3 separate regions of the Homo sapiens genome follow, and regions 2 and 3 are each linked to region 1. Evidence: promoter capture Hi-C in 16 types of primary human blood cells and fetal thymus (Javierre and others, 2016). All regions are on one chromosome and are shown on one strand. The core of a region is centred on a gene start or on the middle of the fragment in contact, and the rest is flanking DNA. Distances in the headings are between cores, read along the strand shown.

Region 1 (4,793 bases), core at 1,481-3,980:
TGGTTACAGAGTAATAATCTAATACAGTAATTATAATCCTTTTTTATATTTAGGAACAAGGTCCTTTTGTATATACCATGCCATTAAGAAGCACAGAATGGAGAATACTTTTACTCAGAATATTTAAAAATATCTAATGATACTTTTTTTTTTTTACAACGAGTAAGTTTTCATTTATTTTCATATTTAGGAAAGCAAAACAAAACAAAAAACCTCTAGAAAATATGTTTGAAAGAAAGAATACTGTTTTGGTACAAAAGCAGCACTATTTTTCTTTTCCCAACACAGAAAGCAATTATGCAGTTTTTTAGAAAAATAATAATGCCTGTATTACAATTCCATTTAGTAAATTGTAGAAAATAATAGTGGTTGTGAAATTATATCTGTAGAAATTTCAAAATAAGATGAAAGTACATAATGTCCCTCCTCACTGTTCACCTCTCCCTAGGGAACAAAAAAGTTGTATTTAATCCACCAGAGGCAAGGACACATAGAAAAAAGAATATTAGAGATAGGAAAAAGAAAAAAGCAGATGTCACTAAGTGTTGGTTTTACCAAATTGGAGTATGCAACAGAATCGTCTGGGAAGTTTATTTTTTATGTTTTTTGGAGACAGGGTATCTGTGTGTCGCCCAGGCCGCAGTACCGTGTAGCGATCATAGCTCACTGCAGCCTCAAAGTCCTGGACTCAAGTAATCCTTAAATCTCATCTTCCCCAGTAGCCGGGGACTATAGGTGTGCTCCACCGTGCCCGGGTCATTTTTTTTTTTTTTTCCGAGACAGTCTGGCTCTGTCGCCCAGGCTGGAATGCAGTGGCCTGATCAAGGCTCACTGCAACTTTTAACTCCATGGGCTTAAGTGATCTTCCTGCCTTAGCCTCTTGAGTACCTGGGACTACAGGCATGCGCCACCACGTGTGGCTAGTTTTTTTCTTTGTAGAGAGGAGGTCTCACTATATTGCCCAGGCTGGTATCAAACTCCTGGGCTCAAGGGTGAGTCATAGCATCTGGCCTGTATATTTTTGTGGAGAGGGGGGTCTTGCTTTGTTGCCCAGGATGGTCTGGAATGTCTTGGCTCAATCTATTCTGCCTCGGCCTCCCAAAGTGCTGGGATTACAGACGCGAGCCACTGTGTCCGGCCCAGCTTGACTTTAGAATCAGTTAAGTTCTTTAGTTAAAAAAGTTAATTTGGGCCAGGCGCAGTGGCTCACGCCTGTAATCCCAGCACTCTGGGAGGCTGAGGCGGGCGGATCACGAGGTCAGGAGATCGAGACCATGCTGGCTAACATGGTGAAACCCCATCTCTACTAAAAAATACAAAAAATTAGCCGGGCGTGGTGGCGGGCGCCTGTAGTCTCAGCTACTCGGGAGGCTGAGGCAGGAGAATGGCGTGAACCCAGGAGGTGAAGCTTGCAGCGAGCCGAGATTGTGCCACTGCACTCCAGCCTGGGCGACAGAGCGAGACTCCGTCTCAAAAAAAAAAAAAAGTTAATTTGTGAGGAAACTGAAAATTCAATTATTTTTCAGAAAGCAATGTTTTTGTTAAACAGAAATTAACCAAATAAAACGAAATCCTTACAGTAAACTTCAATCCCAGCAAGACTTAAAGTATTTCTGCTTTGCAGTCATTCCTGCCATGTAGAACACTTCCCCAGGCCCAACACCCCACAACACCTGGGGCCTTACCTCTACCTGGGGACTGACCACATTATAATTAAGAAGGCTTAACTCACGATGAAGGGGACTGCTCTAGTGGACGAGTTGGGCCGATCCCTTTATTGACTCCGTTAGGATGGGAGATGGGGGTTGGAGGGATAGGCGTTAGGGGTATAAAGGGGCCAGCTTGGGAATCAAACCCTACTTCCAGAGTCCCTTCGGGCTTTGAACATGCCAGAAACATTTTCCCTGCTTAGAGCACTGTGCTGAATTTTGTTAAACTTGTGATTAAATCGTCATGAAAGCTTACACGTGCATTTAAAAATTATTCAGATATGCACCATTAGGGATAATCAGGCTAATAGTACCAGACCTTGAGTTCATTGAGGACTGGATTAGTCCCTTAAGTATCGTGGTAAATGTTAATTGAACAAATTCCAAGTTTATAGCCACCCACTTTCTGTCATATCAGCATTTCAGTTATTGAAAAATTAAGTTCTAGCTTTTCTTTTAAGGAACTTTAAAAATCACAAGTTCGAATTTTAAAAAGGAATCCTAAGACATTTTTCCTCGTCTGCTGACATATTTCCACAGCAAATGCTAAACTAATAGCTAGGCTATTATTAGGTGATTTTGCCATCTTAAAATCTTTTGGTTTCTGAGTTCGAGGAAAGGCGTTGGGGGCAAATATGTAAGAGAGGCTGTGAGGGATGTAATACTGCAAACGCTAACGTTTTGTTTTCATAGTTGTTTGGCCACCTCGCGAGATCCAGTGAACCGGAGGAGTTCCTGTTTTTCCCTTTTAATTTTTGTCAATCTAATCTTCAAAGTCAACAAAGCTAAAATCGAGCACCCAGGTGGTTCACCTCCCCAGAGGGGCTCAGATCATGAAATAAACGCCACCAAAAAAACGCTGGAAGAGGCAGCCCACAGTGAAAAGTCCCAGGAAGTGATTTCCGGTCGAAGGTGGGAGGGGCGGCTGATTTCCGGTCGAAGGGCAGGCGACGGCTCTTGCGCAAGCGCGCTTCGCACTTTGCGGGCTTTTTTTTTTTTTTTTTTTTTTTTTTTTTTTTCCTTTCCCCTCCCCCTCCCTCTCCAAGCCGGAGGGGTCCTGAGGTGACAGCGCCTGCAACTGAAATTTCAGCAGCGGGAGAAGATGGACAAGAGAAAGCTCGGGCGACGGCCATCTTCATCCGGTGAGAAAGGGTCAGAGAAGGGCTGAACATATTGTCTCCTACCCGGGGGAAACGGGAGGCGCAGGCGGCAGCTGGGGTTGCGGCCCGAAGCCGCGGGGGCGAGGGCGGGGGCGGGGAGAGGAAGGGGCGCGCACAATGGAAGGCTCCCGGGTCGCCCCCGCCCCTGGAGTCGAAGACCCGGTCCGAGCTGTCATCGAAGCCTCGGGCGCTCTTCACCTCAAAACCCCTTTTATTTTTTCCCTCCTCCCGCGAACACCCTCCTTGCGTCTCATCGGCCCATGGATCTTCCCGGTTGGCTTGTCACTCTCTGCCACGCCTTCCTCGTAATTCCACCAATGTTCCAATTTCATTTCGGCTTCTCAGCGCCTGACCCCACTTTCCTCTCTTCCTTTGATTCTCGACTTTGCGTCCCTTCCCCTCTCCCTCCTCTTTCCCTCAGCAGGTAGCTGCTGCTGGGGAGGAAAGGTGGGGCTTGCGACCGGAGACTCCTTTTCTTTGATACAATGCCTCTCCGGGTCTCGTTCTGCTGAACAGGCCCGCCTAATAGCCTTTTTCTTTTCCAGCCTACCCTGCGTCTTCCAAAAGTGATTGGAAAGTCAAACAAAGGATTTGAAGCCGTGCTTTCGTTGTGTTTTTATTTTCAGCATATTTTTTGTTTTGGACGTTACTTTGTTTTAAATGACTATCTTCAGTTTTGTGTACAACGTCTTGGAAACAAGAAAGTGGAGTTATAAAAACGTGAGGTAGAGCTCCTCCCAGTTGAGAAGTTTTTATCAAACATTTCATCCATTAGGGGGTCCTCAAGTCCTTGTGTTAAGTCCTATGGATGGTAGGAGGAGAGGACGAGGACTCATATGCTTACAGTCCAGTACACAAACGAACGCCCAATGAATCAATTATTTCATTTCATTTTTCTGTTTCTGATGGTACCGTTGGTTTCTGCAGAGACAGTTAACAATTACAGATTTATTGGCCGGGCGCGGTGGCTCACGCCTGTAATGCCAACACCTTGGGAGGCCGAGGCGGTCGGATCACAAAGTCAGGAGATCGAGACCATCCTGGCTAACATTGTGAAACCCCGTCTCTACTAAAAAATGCAAAAAATTAGCCGGGCGTGGTGGCGGGCGCCTGTAGTCCCAGCTACTCAGGAGGCTGAGGCAGGAGAATGGCGTGAACCCGGGAGGCGGAGCTTGCAGTGAGCCGAGATCGCACCACTGCACTCCAGCCTGGGCAACAGAGCGAGACTCTGTATCAAACAACAACAACAACAAAAAAAAAACAAAAAAAACCAATTCCAAATTTATTTAGGAGTGCCCTGTGGCAGTGCATCTCAAACTGCTTTCAGCCTTAATTGCAAAGGAGAGTGATTATGGATCTCTGGGGACACTGCTTGAAGCAGTTGAAAACCTGAAATCCCTTTTCATATGCAACCAATGTTATCGATGTTCTTGGTGTATATTCTGGAGATAATAGTTTTTTCCTTTGAAAGCACATGTATAAATGATATATATGTATATTTATACATACATGTAGGTATATGCCTCCAACTGATGAGTGTTTTAATAGTCTCCACCCCCCACCAAACCTCTAAGTAAAATGGACACATTAGGAAAACGCACAATGCTTAGCTGGTGTCATTTGCGGGCTTCCTAACACAGAACTTTAGGTGTGATCATATCTTCCTTTGAGATGCACAACCTTTTTTAAATAAATGCATTTCATCTAGGTTTAATACATTTTTGAGGAGGGAAGGTAAGATATTTGCCTTGTAATTCAACAAGTCACGTTCCTTTTTACCTGATTACACTTAGATTTATTTATTTGTCACAGTAACTTGATGTAAGTAGTTGTGGGAAGTGGATTTTGATAATAAAGCTGTTAATCCTTAAAAGACATTGATATTTACGTTAGTTATATCTCTAGAGAGCGTTTTCTTTTTCTC
Region 2 (4,693 bases), core at 859-3,358, 1.2 Mb after region 1:
GTCTGTAAAATCTGACTACAAGGCTGCTAGGCCAACGGGAAAGATGCTGAGGGTTCAACGCCATGCCCTCAACAAGTCAGTCCTCGAATACATTGTCATCTCTTTGCTAATATCCTTTTTTGTTTGTTTGTTTTAGACAGGGTCTCACTCTGTCATCCAGTCAGGAGTGCAGTGCAGCAGTCTCAGCCCATTGCAGCCTCAACCTCCCGGCTCAAGCGATCCTCCGTCCTCAGCCTCCCAAGTAGCTGGGACTACAGGCACACACCACCACACCTAGCTATTTCTTTTCCTTTTTTCTTTTTCTTTCTTTCTTTCTTTTTTTTTTTTTTTTAAGTTTTTTACTTTTAATAGAGGTGGGGCCTTGCTATTTTGCCCAGGCTGGTCTCAAACTCCTGAGCTCAAGACCCTACTGCCTTAGCCTCCCAAAGTGCTGGAATTATAGGCGTGAGCTGCTGCGCCCAGCCTATAGACTATGATTTTTGCATTTTTATTTATTAGATTGCTTTTTAATTTTCGTGTTTTGTGTTTTTGTGCCTTGTCAGACTTGTGGAACAAAAATCCAAAACTTAACCACCTTTTGGAATGCCCCAGAATAGTTTATACTGAAACAGATCTTGGTTTGTAAAAGAACACTATAAAAACATTTTGGGGGCAACTAGGGAGATTTAAATATGAACGAGATATTTGATGCTTTTCTGAATTATTTTGTGTGCTATAGTGTTGTGCTTGTGACAATTCTTTACTCTTAGAAAATGAGGAAGTATTAGGGATGAACCATCAGAATGTTTGACTTGAAAATCGTCAGCAAAAAGAAAACACATAAGATAAAGCAAATATGGCAAAATGTTAATTATTAAATCTAGGAGGAGGACACAGCTGTTCATGGTACTAGATTAAAACTTTGTAGAAGTTTAAAATTTTAAGCTTTCATAAAAAAAAATTGGGGGGAAATACATAGCAGTTATGGTCTTTCTGCAGCTTAAGAGACTATCTGGACTTGGCTTTGTAGCAGGAAGATCTTTAAAAACCTTTTCATTTCTGCTATGCTTATTAACCTATGAGGTTTCAGGGTCAACCTGTGGTCACTTACAACCTGTTAAAAAAATTCATCTAGATTTCCAAATTTATTGGACTAACATTGTAACTAATAGTGGTCCTAAACCTGGCTGGAAATGTTATTTGAAGTGCTTGTTCAAAATGCAAATTATTTCATTTTTTTAGAAGTGGATTCTTACAGTGTTGCCCAGGCTGGTCTCAAACTCCTAGGCTCAAGTGATCCTCCCACTTTGGCTTCAAAAAGTGCTGGCCTTATAGGCATGAGCCATGGCATCCAGGTGGAGATGCCCAGTAGGCAACCGGACCAAAGCCTCAAGCTCAGAAGATGTCTGGGCTGGAAATTGACTTGGGAGTCACCAGCAGTTTTAACTAAGAGGAAGCTCTGAATTTGGATGAGAACACACAAGCGGAGTATGAAAGGCACACGCAAAAGAAGAAGGGCCTGTGGAGCCTGGGAAGGAGCCATTAGAGGAGAAGGACCAGGCCGGGCGCCACTGCCTGGTGGAGGAACAGCTGTGTCCTCCTCCTAGATTTAATAATTAACATAATCCCAGCACTTCAGGAGGTGGAGGCAGGTGGATCAAGAGGTCAGGAGCTCGAGACCAGCCTGACCAGCATGGTGAAACCCCGTCTCTACTAAAAATGCAAAAATTAGCTGGGCGTGGTGGCACACACCTGTAATCCCAGCTACTCAGGAGGCTGAGACAGCAGAATCACTTGAACCTGGGAGGCGAATGTTGCGGTGAGCCGAGATTGTGCCACTGCACACCAGCCTGGGTGACAGAGCCAGACTCCATTAAAAAAAAAAAGAGAGAGAGAGAAGCAGGACCAGGAGAAGGCCATCAAGACCAAAAGCCTATGGGTACTGTGTCCCTCTGTCACATGCAGGGAAACTGCTGACTTGGGCACTAGGGGTGTTCCTAGAAAAGGAAAAGCTAAATGAAAGTGCGCTTTTTAAACCTTTCTTTAGAACTTTCTGGGCACAATGGAAAAGCTAGTCACTGGGTTCTGGTTCTGGCTCTGACACTGATTAGATGTTAATACCTAGGGCAAATCACCTCACCCTCAGGACCTTTTCCTCACCTGTATGTGAAAGGATTTAGAGGCAAAGGAAGAAGAATCTGGCTGAAGGGTGAAGTTTGTGCAGCCCTCCCCACCACCACTCCCCTCACTGTCCCTTCTCTGCAGCAGCTCTGCCTTCGTTTCCATGTTCCTGTTCATCTGACGTATGAAAATAGGCCAAAAAACAAAACTACCAGGCCAAATGGATCTTGAAAGCCCAGCTAAAAATCTGGTGTGCCTTTTCAGTCTCTATTCTCATTTCTACCCATGTCTCACAGGCTTAATGACCATTTCCAGGCTGTTACTAGTCAGATTTTTATTTTTACTCCAGAGGACCTATTTCAACATCTCCGGCTGCCGCCATCTCTATTTACATGTCTCAACATCAGTTCCAACTCAACTATGTGAAACTAAATGTATCACCTCCAAAAGAGCTTCTCCACCCAGCACTTACAGGCACCACAATTTATGCCCAGTTTTCTAATTCTCCCTGCTTTCCAGCCCTCCAAGAAAACCTAAGTCACTTCAGTGACTTTCGAGTCTTTCATTCCCCACCTCTGGTAAGGGACAGGGCTCTTCTTACTCTCAGGAAATGTCCCTGATTCCTCCTTTCAGTTCCCACCACCACCGTCCACAGGTAGGCCTTCCTCACCTTGGGGAGACTGCTACAGGCACTTCCTAACTGGTCTCTCCTTTCCATCAGCATTCCTCCAGCTGCCGCTTCATAGTATGAGGTGAGTCTAGGGGAACGTGAGCTCAGTTTTTGGGGGAGAGGTGGATATGTGTTCCAGGAAAACTCTCCGTGTTTTTCCTCTGCTCTTACATCACCACCACAACAATCATCATCACAGAAGAATTCTGGGACCAAATGTGAGGGGGTTCCTCCCTACCACCAAGCAGCGGACACCAGCTGGGTATCCTCCTATTCAATTCCAACACTGTCTACCTGAGGAAGACACACCGGCACCAGTCATATGTCTTGGACTCCAGAACTTCTGACCAACCACTTTCAAGTTGGGGTTGCCATGATCCCATCTTTGGGTTTGAATAACTTGCTGGAGCAGCTCACAGAACTCATGGAAACATGTTTCCTGGTTTATTATAAAGGATGTTGCAAAGGCTACAAGGAAGAGATGTGTAGGGCAAAGTATGGGAGGAGGGGCACAAAGCTTCCATGCCCTCCAGAACCTCCACGAACGTGGTCAGCTATCTAGAAGCTCTCCAAACCCAGTTCTATTGGCCTTTATGGGAACTTTATGTTATCAGCATTCCTTCCTCCAAGGGATGGGGCAGGAGCTCTCAGGAGGTATTTAAGACCCACAATCAGCAAGATTAGAGTTCTGCCTTGGGGCAGGTGAAAGGAGAGCAGGAGAGGCCAGAGAGATTCTGTTTCCTGAGGCCTGCCCCTGAGGCCTAACACAACTGGCATTATAACAAAAGACTTAACAAGGCTATGGGAGTCAGGGACCGTGCTTGAAAATGTGTGTATGTATGTGTGTGTATACCTCGTAACACCACAATACGCAAGTGACTTACAGCAGTCAGAAATTAGGGGCTGAAAATCAGAATTGCAGTCATTTGCAAAGAATAAGAGAAGAAATCTATGAGTAGATGCAATCGGAGAAGGAAAGAGTATACTACAGAAAGCAAAGGATCAAACTTGGGAATTATCATATTGGGTTAGAACTGTGTACAGGGAGGAGTCAAAGAGTGTGTATGCATCTAAATATACACATAAATGCATAGATACACAGAATTTTTAAATTTCTGATGCAGTTCTCTGCAAATCAGGAGACCTGAGTTCAAAACTTTGCTGACACACCATGTAACTTTGGACAAGTTACTTAACGTTGGGAGACCAATTTAATATACCCACGTGGGTTAGACAGGTAACTGAGTAAAGCTGGCAACCTGAAGAGAAAAGCAAACACTGAGAAGGCCACTAGCTCTCGCCTGCTGTTTCCAGGACAGCAAACAGCAAAGAGGTGGCACAGTATAGCAGTTATAACCATGAACTCTTTTGTGTGGATGTTAAGTTTTCATTTCCCTAGGGTAAATACCTAGGAGAGGGATTGCCGGGTTGTATAGTAAACATATGTTTATTTACAAGAAATGGCCAAACTGTTGTCTAGAGTGTCTGTACCATTTTGTACACCCACCAGCAATGTATGAATGTTCTAGTTATTCCATATCCTCACCAGCACTTGGTATTGTCATTTTTTGTTTTTAATTTTAGCCATTCTAACTGGTGTGGTTTTGATTTACATTTCCCCAACAGCTAATGATGATCTTTTCACATGCCTATTTGCCACCCATCTTTCTCTGAAGAATTGCTTCTTTTCCCCATTGTTTTGTTTTCTTATTGTTGTAGTGAAAATCTTTATATATTCTGAACACAAATCCTTTGTTGGTATGTTTTGCAAGTACAGTATTTTTCCCCAGTATGTAGCTTGTCTTTCCCTTCTATTAAGTGTCTTTTGCAGAGCAAAATTTTTAAATTTAAGATTTTTTTTTTTTTTTTTTTGAGATGGAGTCTCTCTCTGTCACCCAGGCCGGAGTGCAGTGGTGATCTCGG
Region 3 (4,464 bases), core at 257-2,756, 1.6 Mb after region 1:
AACTGTTAGCTTTGGGGTAAAAGTATGCTATCAGTTTGGGGCTGAGATTCAGGTGTTTATGCATCATACAACTTTCATAAAAGTCATTTAATCTCATTTGTAATAAAAAATGCAGCATAAAAGTCTCAAAAAGGATATTTAATAAGTATGAGGTAAGCACAGGAGACTAAAAAGATTACAATGCAATTCACAAGTATAGGGCAGAAGAGTTAAAACCAACAAAACTACAAACTCAACATCCAAAATGTTAGTACACAATTGCAAATCAAATATTAAATTTTAAGTTCGGCTGAAGAGTATGTGTAATTCACATCTCTTAGTATACTGTATATGAAAAGCAAGAGTGAGTTTACTTTAGGTTTCTCAGTAGGTACTTAGAGTGATCTAGAATAATGATAAAGTGAACTCCCAATTTAGTGAAGAGGACATACATTTAATGTTGTGCCCTGCATCTTTATTCCACACCATTTCCACTAACAACTCTGCAAACATCCTTTCTCCACTCCACACTAAGAAAATGAAGCGAGCAGACTATTTTCGTCATTCTTGTTTGACAAAACATATGGAAACAATAATTCTACAGACATATGTACATCATAATAGGAAGCAATCCTATTTTAATGTAATTTTAAAAGAGGTTTTAAAAGGACTCAAGCTACTAAAATTACTCATCTGAAGCTTGCAAATAAGAATGCCACGTCCCTAATTTATTTAGCAGATTCATATAGTTGGGCTAGAACTTTAGGTATGACTTCTCTTATAATTCGGAGGTGAATTCTCATTCACAAGAAGTAGGATTTGTACAAGTAAATCTACCCCATACTAGAGGATAATATTCTTAATTCAATCACATTTGGCTAATTTCTTTTTTCTTCACGTGGTTATTTTTGGCTTTATTTTGTTTGCCGGTAGAAGAGAACAAACATTAAAACTGGCTCTAAAGTTCTAATTTTATACATTGTCTTGAAAGTACAGCACAAAACATTTAATTTCTTTAAAAATTTTTTCCCTGCCAAAAAATGATAGTTTTAACTGCTTTCGTTAAAACACAGGCATGCAGAAATGGGGAAAGAGGAAGTTCTTTCAGGAAAAACACTGAAAAAAATAAGATTTCATCTGGCCTTTCCATCATCACTTGAAGAATTGTTTGGTAGTTACATCATCAGGAAATAAAACACCATCCTCTGAGGACCCCTACTCATTACAAAGAGGAAAGAGAAGGTTTGAAGTCTAAATCACCCCCAGAGATGTCTCCACAAAACCCCAGACTTCTCCTTTCCCTCTCCCGCCTACCCCCAGCAACCAAAAATAAAAAGTATAATGAATTTACAAAAGTTTACATAAGAATAACAGGATGTGTATTGAAGTCCCTGAAGCAACAACAGCTTTAGGGACCCAGAGGGAAAAAAGTTACAAGCGGATCGACCCTGCCTCCCAATGACTTTGTTAGCCCGACAGGAGGGCGCCGGCGCCCCGGCCCACCGGCCCACCACTCATTCCCTCCGCTGGGAGCCGGGAACCACGGTCCGTTCACACGGCCGGAACATCCGCGGGAGCTGGGGTGTGTGGCTGCGCCGCCGCCGCGGCCGAGGGTCCCGCGGTCACCGGCGCCCCCGCCGACAGCGCCGCACACGCGGAGCGCCTTATAAGGCAGAACAGTGACGTAACGCCCATAGGCCGGGCGCGCTCAGCGCCCCGCTCGCATTGTTCGGGCGACTCTCGGAGCGCGCACAGTCGGCTCGCAGCGCGGCACTACAGCGGCCCCGGCCCGGCCCCCGCCCGGCCCCGGCGCAGGCAGTTCAGGTAAGCCCGGGAGAGCAACTTCGCTCCACCAAGGGGCACTGCTGTCAGACAGCCAGGTAGCAAGTCTGTGGGTGGCTGTTAAAGCTGTCTCAGCATCACAAACTGCAGACAGGTTTCGCAAAGCGCATCCAATGAATTCTAGGTTCAAAACCGTTTCCAACTCACACAAAACTTGAAAGTAGAAGTTTTCTCTGGAGGAGAAAACAGATTAGAGATTTAATTTTAAATGTTGAGAGGTGGGAGGTGACTGTATTACATACGCTTTCCAAGTGAGCTACACATTGAATCCTGCCCATATTGAGAAATCTTTGGGGAAAGGGTGGGGGAGACTATATTGTACTGCAGCAACCCTATCTCTCCTCCGGACTCAAACTCGCTTGTCTTACATGAGCAGAATGCGAAAATTTGTTAGTGCCAGGTTTTCCCCTCTTTTTGTAAATGTTAATATAAACGACTAGAAAAACACTGTTAGGAATACATCTTGGAATTAAGACGAATCTAACTTAAAAAGTAAAATCTTTTTAAGCTTCAAAAAATCGTACAAACGCTATTTTGTCGTAAAAGCATATGTCAATTTGTACAAGGAAGTAACTATCATAGTTTTGAGTTCTAACTTTCTGCTTCAAGTCCAGGCATTGGAAAAATGACAAACCTCACTTACAGCTATCATTTCTAGAGTAATATTTTGGATAGTAGTATATTATGTAAAAAATGCCAATTTAAAAGGTAAAACTTATAGAGTAACTGTATTAATCAGTAACATTTTAAACCATAATTAGTTACATCTAAATCCTGAAGAGGCTATTGCTACCAATGAACTCTTACAGTATGATAACTGAACACTTGGCAGAAAAATCTCCATAATATTTTACTTCATTTTTTCCAACTAAAAGTCAACGTAGGAATTAAAAATAAAAAGGTTATGTCAACTTTAGAACACTGGAATAGGAGATGAAAAATTGATTCATCATTCAATCCTTATCTGGTCTAAACATATATTGTAAAATAAAACTTTAACAACTATGTGACAGAATTGTCCCTTTTAAAACAGTCTCTATGTTTTATAAGTATATACAATTCAAACTCAGAATTCATAGGCTGCCATTTATATTTACTCTGAGATTTTAAAATGCTGGCATTTTAGTTGGCACTAAAATGACCATATAAGATAACTGTTTGGAGGTACAGTAAAAGTTTAACAGAGGAGCAGAGCACTATAACCACTGAGGTGTATGTGTGTGTTACAAACTCATGTTTTTATATTTAATTGTCAGAAGAAAATGTCAGATCCCAGATTTTATCATTGAAACACAGCATTTAAAAAATACTCAAAATGTGGGTTATATCTGTATATTTCTAATAATTTCTGTTGGATGGTTTTTAAAAGTATATGACATTGGTGCCTATCATTTTTGCCTCATAGCAGTTTTTTTGTTTTTGCTAATTTTGTTTGGAGCAATGCACGACTTTGGTTTTCATATTTTAAAAGAAAAATTATATGTTATTTGGCCTGAGGATAGGCTATATAAACTGCAGGTTAGTACTGAGAAGTAGGATTTTCCACAAACTATTATTTCAAACCTAGGGAAGCCCACCATAATGAGAAGAGCGGGGCCAACACCCATGTCACTGTGGAGAAGTACAGAATATGCAATGGAAGAGTTGTTTATCTGATATAAGCGGTAATTGGAAACTGAAAAATTCCTGCTCTGGAAAAAAGATATTCTGCTCTTCTGAATCTAACAGAGGAAGAGACAAACAGAAACCATCAATTATTGTTTCAGGTATACCCAGAGTACCATCTGTACCATAAACTACAACTCAACTGTTGAAAATCATAACTTCCATCAAAATTCTAACAGCTGTGTTTCCCAGTGTCTTTTATTTTTTTAAAGCAGGCAAGCATCGATTTTTTAAAATTTAAAAATAACACTCTTTAATATTCCACACTTTTTCCCATTTATTAACTTTAAAGCATGGTTCAAAGAACAATCACATAAGACCTCTTTTAAAACTGAAAGCTAAGTATGACTTATCATGGATACCCTATCTCACACTGGGCTCTTTGGATGAGCAATTTCTTAGTCCTTGGGACAATCTGTATGATGGGAAAATGTTTTTGATAGAATGAATGTGAATTTCTACACTTCCAAATAAAGCACATAATAATTTTATGCTTAGTAAGTTCATTTGCACTTTTGTGGTGATTAACCTTAACTGTTAAGCCCTGGTATTTTTGTGCTATTTTCCTAATGCTGTGATGGAGACTATAGTAACAGCCAGTATGAAAACACAAATCAAGCCTTGACTTAATTTTCCGGTTCTCTTGCAGTTCCCATTAATTTGCCTTCTCAAAAGGCTGTAAATTTTGTTTAAGGGTTCTCTGCTGTAATTTCCCCTCCAAAAAAGTGCCTTTGGTAATAAATGGATTTTGAGATTTAAGAAAAAAAACTGAAAATGTAGGAGGAAGAATAAGATTCCAATAATTCTGCTTAGGTCATGTTCTGTCCATGTCTAGTGCTTCAGGGCAAAGTGAACATTTTACAAGGTGAATAGAAAAAAAACATACAGCCCCTCCTATTTAAAGGAAAAAGGAAGAGGGGCAAGAAGAGAACTGTTTATAAAAGACTGGATATTGTGGATGTAAGGCAATATTGGTCT

The links. The method cuts DNA at HindIII sites, captures the fragments that hold promoters and counts their contacts. A CHiCAGO score of 5 or more calls a contact.
Region 2: a fragment that was not itself captured here is called in contact with the fragment with the promoter of SENP7 in region 1 in 1 of 17 cell types (naive CD8 T cells); the score reaches 5.2 in naive CD8 T cells.
Region 3: a fragment that was not itself captured here is called in contact with the fragment with the promoter of SENP7 in region 1 in 1 of 17 cell types (fetal thymus); the score reaches 5.2 in fetal thymus.

What each region holds. Positions count from the first base shown.
Region 1 is chr3:101,511,149-101,515,941 of GRCh38, reverse strand. It overlaps SENP7 (SUMO specific peptidase 7), which reads left to right and starts at 2,730. Exons shown (of 24, transcript NM_020654.5): 1 at 2,730-2,851. The coding sequence starts at 2,812. The HindIII fragment of the contact is 4,750 bases long and covers 1,963-4,793 here.
Region 2 is chr3:100,329,619-100,334,311 of GRCh38, reverse strand. No RefSeq gene overlaps it. Among named protein-coding and RNA genes, the nearest start is that of NIT2, 2.8 kb to the left of the region's middle. The HindIII fragment of the contact is 2,363 bases long and covers 927-3,289 here.
Region 3 is chr3:99,873,411-99,877,874 of GRCh38, reverse strand. All of the region lies in intron 1 of CMSS1 (cms1 ribosomal small subunit homolog), which reads right to left. All of the region lies in intron 4 of FILIP1L (filamin A interacting protein 1 like), which reads left to right. All of the region lies in intron 1 of LOC105374010 (a long non-coding RNA gene), which reads right to left. Among named protein-coding and RNA genes, the nearest start is that of HP09053, 52 kb to the right of the region's middle. RefSeq lists a silencer at 1,396-1,865. The HindIII fragment of the contact is 1,651 bases long and covers 681-2,331 here.